Linked DNA regions of Homo sapiens: region 1 is linked to region 2. The links are contacts of gene promoters, found by promoter capture Hi-C in blood cells and fetal thymus (Javierre and others, 2016). All regions are on one chromosome and are shown on one strand. The core of a region is centred on a gene start or on the middle of the fragment in contact, and the rest is flanking DNA. Distances in the headings are between cores, read along the strand shown. Region 1 holds the start of MIR3649 (microRNA 3649). Region 2 holds the start of DCP1B (decapping mRNA 1B).

Region 1 (3,320 bases), core at 528-3,027, 350 kb after region 2:
GAATAAGTGTTCTGGCTGTGAGTGAATTTTTTTTCTTAACATGTTTTGGCCTGGATACTATCTGAAGGTGTTACCCAAGCAGTGGGGTGACTTTGCTGACGACACAGTTACTCAATACTCCCCAGCTCAGGGTGAAGGTTAGGTGGCACGTTGGCGGGACATGTGACTCACATGCGCAGGTGTGTTCCTTGGGAGGAAGGCTTGGAACAGGCACCTGTGTGTGCCCAAGTGTTTCTAGCAAACACAGGGACCTGAGTGTCTAAGCACAGGCCCACTTTACAGGGGTCTCCTGAGAACTCCTCCCCCTCCTGAGAACTGTGCCTTCCCAGCCAGAAGTCACTCATACAGAATGTTCCCAACTTATGAATGGGCATTGTTCTCAGAAAGAGAATTTGTAAGTCAGTTGTTTAGAACGGGAAGGCATCTCCCCAGATAAACAAGTGTATGTGTGATCTTTGTTATTCAGGAAAGCCTAAAAGAACATCTTGTGTCCCAGAAATCAAGGACTGTACAATGGGAACAGAAAACTCCAGCTGGTGGAATCATGTGGCCCTCAGAAAATGCCTTCCAACTTCTAGCCTGAGATCCTGGGAATCTTCTCCACTGTCACAGACCTTCTGTGAGAAGGGGGGACGCTTCCCAGCTCCACGTCCCTGATGTGGCTGCCATGTCCTGGGGCAGAGGCCAGTGAGGAGAAGCAGCTGGGTGTAGGCGGCCAGGCCCTGGGGGCTAGAGGGGGCAGAGTCCATTCCCAGAGCTCCTTTCAGAGTCCGCTCCCTGTCCATGTCCTCTGAGGGCCCAGGGGTGGGCCTCCTTGCCTTTGCCTTCTTGAAGTTTCCTTGGCCGGGAGCAGTGGCTCACGCCTGTAATCCCAGCACTTTGGGAGGCCGAGGCTGGTGGATCACTTGAGGTCAGGAGATAAGGACCAGCCTGGCCAGCATGGTGAAACCTCGTCTCTACTAAAAAAAAATACAAAAATTAGCCGGGTGTGGTGGCGCGTGCCTGTAATTCCAGCTACTCAGGAAGCTGAGGCAGGAAAATCGCTTGAGCCTGGGAGGCAGAGGTTGCCGTGAGCTGAGATCACGCCACTGCACTCCAGCCTGGGTGACAGAGTGAGACCCTGTCTCAAAAAAAAAAAAAAAAAAAAGTTTCCTAAGTCTTTGATTCTTAGGACAAAGTGGTAAACAGACTGGGGATTTAAAAAAAAAAAAAAAAGACTCCCATGTGATGGCGGGGTGGAAGGTGGAATGCTCACTTTTCAGGTACTGGCCTTCTCAGGAAAGACCAAGACCAACATAGAGAAGGATGGTGGATTTCTGGGTATACAAAAGACCAAACAAATCCAGATCATCAAGGTTAGACCCCTTGCATTTGTGGTTGGCTTCAGTTGAGATGATTCCCAAGAGCTTACATAATAAACTTTACTTTTTTAAAAAGCATATTTTCATTGATCTTGCCATGATATAAGCAAGCTATATCTTATACACTTATCTATATCTATGTAAGATATACCATTACCCTTTTCTTTTTTAATACAGGGTCTTGCTCTGTCACCCAGTCTGGAGTACAGTGGCTCGATCCTAGCTCACTGCAACCTCAAACTTCTGGGCCCAAGTAATCCTGCTACCTCAGCCTCCCAAAGTGCTGGGATTACAGGCATGAGCCACCATGCCCAGCCTCAATATTTTAAAAGTTTATATTTTACAAAAGGCTTTCACATCCATATGATTTAATTTGAGGTAGAGAGAGTATTATTTCTGTTTTATTGCTGAGGAAACTGCCTGAATCACTTAACTAGTTGGTTGGGAAGCCAGGTCCTCTGTACTGAATCTTGTGCCCTTGCTGTTTTTAGAGGCTGATTAATCCCTGAAAGGGAGATGGGACACACAGAACCCTCTAGCTGAAATGAATCTCCAGAGAATGTCTGGTTTTCTCCCTGGCTCTAGACTCTACTAAATTCTAAAAACATCTAAATGCTCTTCTTTTCTTAAACTTCTCTGGGGAATGAAATCTATCCTCTCAGTTACCTGTCCCAGCAACAAATAGCCACTCTGTTTAGAAATCCATGCTGTAAGGCTGGGCGCGGTGGCTCATGCCTATAGTCCCAACAATTTGGGAGGCCAAGGCGGGCGGATCACCTAAGGTCAGGAGTTTGAGACCAGCCTGGCCAACGTGGCAAAACCCCATCTCTACTAAAAATACAAAAATTAGCCAGGCGTGGTGGCATGCGCCTGTAGTCCCAGCTACTAGGGAGGCCGAGGCAGGAGAATCGCTTGAGCCCAGGAGGTGGAGGTTGCAGTGAGCCGAGATCTCACAACTGCACTCCAGCCTGGGCAACGAGCAAGACTGTATCTCAAAAAAAAAAGAAAAAAAAAAAGGAAAAAAGAAAGCCATGCTGTATTTCTATCTTTGGTCTTTTTTGTTACAAAAAAGAAAAAAAGTTTGTTTAGCAGAGAAAGTGTTTTTGACTACTTTGTTGGAAACAAGCAATAAGGGGCTTGGAAGACAAAGAACTAGCCTGTGGTTACTGGGTCAGTTCACAACAGTCCACAGCAGAACTGAAATAATAACAAAGGCAAAAATGGGAACATATACATTTTCCAGAGCAATTTCTCACTTCCTATGGCAGCTAAACTTTGCAAAAACCCTGAGCTGGCACCGGGAACTGAGGAGCAAATAAAGCCTGGAAGCCTGATCCTTCTTCCTCAGAGGCTTTTGAACAATTTGACAGCAGAGCCAGGGCTGCAATTCTGGTTTCTTGACCCTGGGATTGAAAAAACCACATCTCTGACCTGGCACCTGGCATGGTGGTTTATGCCTGTAATCCCAGGACTTTGGGCTGCCAAGGCAGGAAGATTGCTTGAGCCCAGGAGTTTGAGGCCAGCCTAGACAACACAGTGAGACCCCAGTCTCTACAAAAAATTAAAAAAAAAAAAAAATAGCTGGTCATGGTAGGGCACACTGGTGGTCTGAGCTACTTGGGAGGCTGAGGCAGGAGGAATACTTGAGTTCAGGAATTCAAGACCAGCCTGGGCAATAGAGTGAGACCCTGTCTCTACAAAAAAATGAACAAAATTATCTGGGCATGCTGGCGTGCACCTGTAGTCCTAGCTATTGAGGAGGCTGAGATGGGAGGATCTCTTGAGCCCAAGAGGTCAAATCTCCAGTGAGCTATGATTGAGCTACTGCACTCCAGCCTGGGTGACAGTGAGACTCTGTCTGAAAATAAAGAAATAAATAAAGCAAGCCAAATTTCTCTGCCCATCAAAGAGTCAAATTGACTTTACAGATTAGCAGAGTTTTCACTGTGAGTTCTTAAT
Region 2 (3,546 bases), core at 763-3,262:
CAAGACTCCTTTACACTCTTAAAAATTATTTTTTTAATTACTTTTTATTTATTTTATTTTTGAGATGGAGTCTCGCTCTATCACCCAGGCTGGAGTGCAGTGGCAGGATCTCGGCTCACTGCAACCTCTGCCTCCCGGGTTCAAGCGATTCTCCTGCCTCAGCCTCCCGAGTATCCGGGATTACAGGTACCTGCCACCACTCCTGGCTAATTTTTGTATTTTTAGTAGAGACGGGGTTTCACCATGTTGGCCAGGCTGGTCTTGAACTACTGACCTTGTGATCCGCCCGCCTCAGCCTCCCAAAGTGCTGGGATTACAGGCAGGAGCCACCGCACCTGGCCCACTCTTAAAAATTATTAAGGACTCCCTCAGAGAACTTTTGTTTATGTGAGTTATACCCACCTATATTTACCATATTGGAAATTAAAAATAACTTTAAAGACCCCGGGCTATGTGTGTTTTGTTTGGAGTATATGAAGAAACTCTGGCCTCATATGTAGATAATGTAGTTGGAAAAGAGATGGATATTTTAATAGAGTTTTTCAGACAATTGTGGATATTCTTCTTGGATAATATACCAAAACTTGACAAGCTGGAGTTTCTCAAAGCTTAGCTGCAATGTACTATCTGAAATCCTATTAACTTTTCATACTGTTACATTAAAAATCCATTAGTCCACCTTGTCCTTGAATGGATCTTTTGCCTGTGCATGATTATGTAGCATGAGACATTGGTCTTTTGGAAAATACTGGACCACTGAGTTAAGCAGATCTTTGAGATATTGACACTTTCCATTATACAAGATTTGTTAAAATTGCGCTCATTAATATCATCACTGATCTCATCAGAAAAAAAAACATTAAGTACTGAGATGTCAAGCTCATGGCAGTAGATACACATTTTCTAAACTTTTAATTCTGGCTTGAAGGCTTAAAAATTATCATTGGCAGCAGTAATTGTCCCTTGTTTTCCTGAAAGTGACAGGCACACTTTATTTATTTTCAGAAAAATGTCTGTCAAGTACCTGTTTGAATAATCATAGTTTGCCCATCTTTCTTTCAAGTAAAAATGTTTTATGAAAATAAAAATAAAAACATGAATTCGGCCTACAACTCAAGCACAGAAGTATTTTCCTAGAGACAAATATGACACACTTCATTTTGCAGCAGACGTGCTTTATGCCTATTTCCTATTTTTTCATGCAGAATGTTAAAAAGAATTGTACCCAAGGATTAAGCTTCAATGAAATTAATAATTCTTACTGCTTATCAAGAACACCATCAGGTGACACTGGCTCTCTACCTTCTTCTTTTTTTTTTTTTCTTTTGTAACTGAGAGTGCAGATTAGTGACGCGTACTTTGACTAGCAATACAGTTTGGTGCCCCTGCCTTGATTGGGTTAAACCACCGGCGCTTTTAACCACCATTGTCTGCAAAACGTCACCACAGTGAACAAGTCAAATAAGTAAGTCTCAGCATTGTCATAAAAGGTTTTGTTTTTTTTTTGACCTTGCAGATCCCCTGAAAGGGTCTCAGAAACTCCCAAAGGGTTCCAGGACCACACCACACTTTGAGAACCACTGGGTGTTAGCGCATTCAGAAATCAATTCAGTTCTCTTTCTCTTCAGAGTTCTTGATGCTCGAGGCTTATTTATTGTGATAGATTTGATCACTGAAGCGCCAAAGAAAAGATATGCCAAGGGGTCGAACACATCCAAGAAGGAAATCCTACCGCACACACAGCTCAAAGGCTCGAGCGCGTAGAAAAACAGCTCTTGGAGAAAGAAACGGGATGCAGAGGGCAGGCCTGGGCTTGTCGTTGCCAGTGGCAACGATCCTCAGTGGGCGGGGCGCGGCCATCGATTAGTGAGGCCTTGCGTCTGTCGGCGGGCAGGAGGGTGGGGGTGACTGGAGCCGGAAGGCCTCCCGGGCCGTGTGGTCGCCGTGGGTTCTCGGTTGCGAGGCAGCTCGCTCGTTCTGCGATCTATTGAGAGTGGCTTCCAAGAGCCCCGTGCCTATGTCTGGGAGGGAGGGAAGATGGCAGCCGTGGCGGCAGGCGGCCTGGTGGGAAAGGGGCGCGACATCAGCCTAGCGGCCCTGCAGCGCCACGACCCCTATATCAACCGCATCGTGGACGTGGCCAGCCAGGTGGCTCTGTACACCTTCGGCCATCGGGCCAACGAGTGGGTGCGTGCGGACGCGGCGGAGCAGTGCAGCCCAGGGTTGGGGTGGAGGCGGGGGGCGTCAGACTCAGGACTTGAGGACCCGGTGAGGGGGAGGAGACGTTGACGCCCTGGAAGTGGGTGGATCTGGGGACTGAGGCCGAAGTTGTGGAGATGGGGTCTCGGGGGTTTGGGGGAAGGAAGGCGGATCTGTGGAGCTACCTGGAGTTGGGGAAAAGACTTAAATCTCTAACGTACCCAACGCTGGGAGACCAGACCGATCGGGTACGGCACCATAAGAGCCGAAGGAAAGGAAGGACCTGATACCTTATGGCCGGAAGACCGATGTGCTCGAGAAAGTAGAGCAGAGTTCTGTTACAGTGAATCTGTGGCTATGGGGGAGGCAGGGACAGCAGACGAATAAAAGTGCAGAGTTCTGATTTTGGAATGTCAGTCTTAGATGGGGCAAAGAGAAATCAAAACTTGATAGAAGGGGAGAAATCTGCAAGTTGTAAACTTAAGGGGAAACACCAAGAAAAGAGCCAACCTCGTCAAATAAAAGACAAAATGGGGCAGGGTCTAACACTTAGAAGGAAGCTGATGCTCTTGGGAAGATTATTACACGGCAGCACACCAAGTTCGATATTGGAGGTCATTTGGGAGCCAAATTATTTTAGTGCTCTTCTCAAAGCAGAGTCCCAGTAAATGGTAATGGAATGAAATTTCATTTTCCTCATAGTTAGAATGGGGTAGAAGCCTAGAACACTGGAATCCTGTTGCAGGGATTGCTGCTTGTAATTTTGTAACCCACCCACTCGAATGTAGAGACATGTAATTTTGTTTCTTTACTCATAATGAGTTTTGTCCAAATAATATTCATCATCCATTATGTATCACATACATGATATCCATCATTTTAAAATAAGTTACAAAACAGTATGGAGAACTTAGCCTTGATGAATGGATTTCAGATAAACTTTTTGTGTTCTTCAAGTCGGTTGTATAAACATCAAAACTTAATCTAGGAAAACATCCATGTTGAACAACTCTGTATTTTTTTTAACACCCACATTCATAAGCCTACTTATCTGCAGTATAGTTCAGCAGCCTGTAGTAAAAAACTCACCTGAAAATCATTAACATAAAAATAAAAAGACAAGCAAGAATGGGGTAGACAAACAGTTTTGCCCAAAGTTCTTAACGGAGGAAATTTGCCGGAATGGGGCAAAGAATTTAGGTCTGCTCTCCTAGTAGCCAAACACAAAAGGAGAACAGGAAGAGCTCTTTAATATTCGTTCTTCTGTAATAGAAAGTGTACCTCTTGATCAGGAGAAAGAGGTTATTTCCCCCTAGTTTCCAGGGGAATTTGTCACCTACTTTTTTT

What was found. The method cuts DNA at HindIII sites, captures the fragments that hold promoters and counts their contacts. A CHiCAGO score of 5 or more calls a contact.
Region 1: a contact is called between a fragment that was not itself captured here and the fragment with the promoter of DCP1B in region 2, in 2 of 17 cell types (total CD8 T cells and non-activated CD4 T cells). The highest score is 5.3, in total CD8 T cells.

What each region holds. Positions count from the first base shown.
Region 1 is chr12:1,657,260-1,660,579 of GRCh38, reverse strand. It overlaps MIR3649 (microRNA 3649), which reads left to right and starts at 200; the gene lies at 200-265. The HindIII fragment of the contact is 3,765 bases long and covers 1-3,320 here.
Region 2 is chr12:2,002,923-2,006,468 of GRCh38, reverse strand. DCP1B (decapping mRNA 1B) reads left to right here and starts at 2,012. Exons shown (of 9, transcript NM_152640.5): 1 at 2,012-2,187. The coding sequence starts at 2,038. It also overlaps a transcript of CACNA1C not described here. RefSeq lists enhancers at 1,737-1,966, 2,291-2,930. The HindIII fragment of the contact is 8,474 bases long and covers 1,240-3,546 here.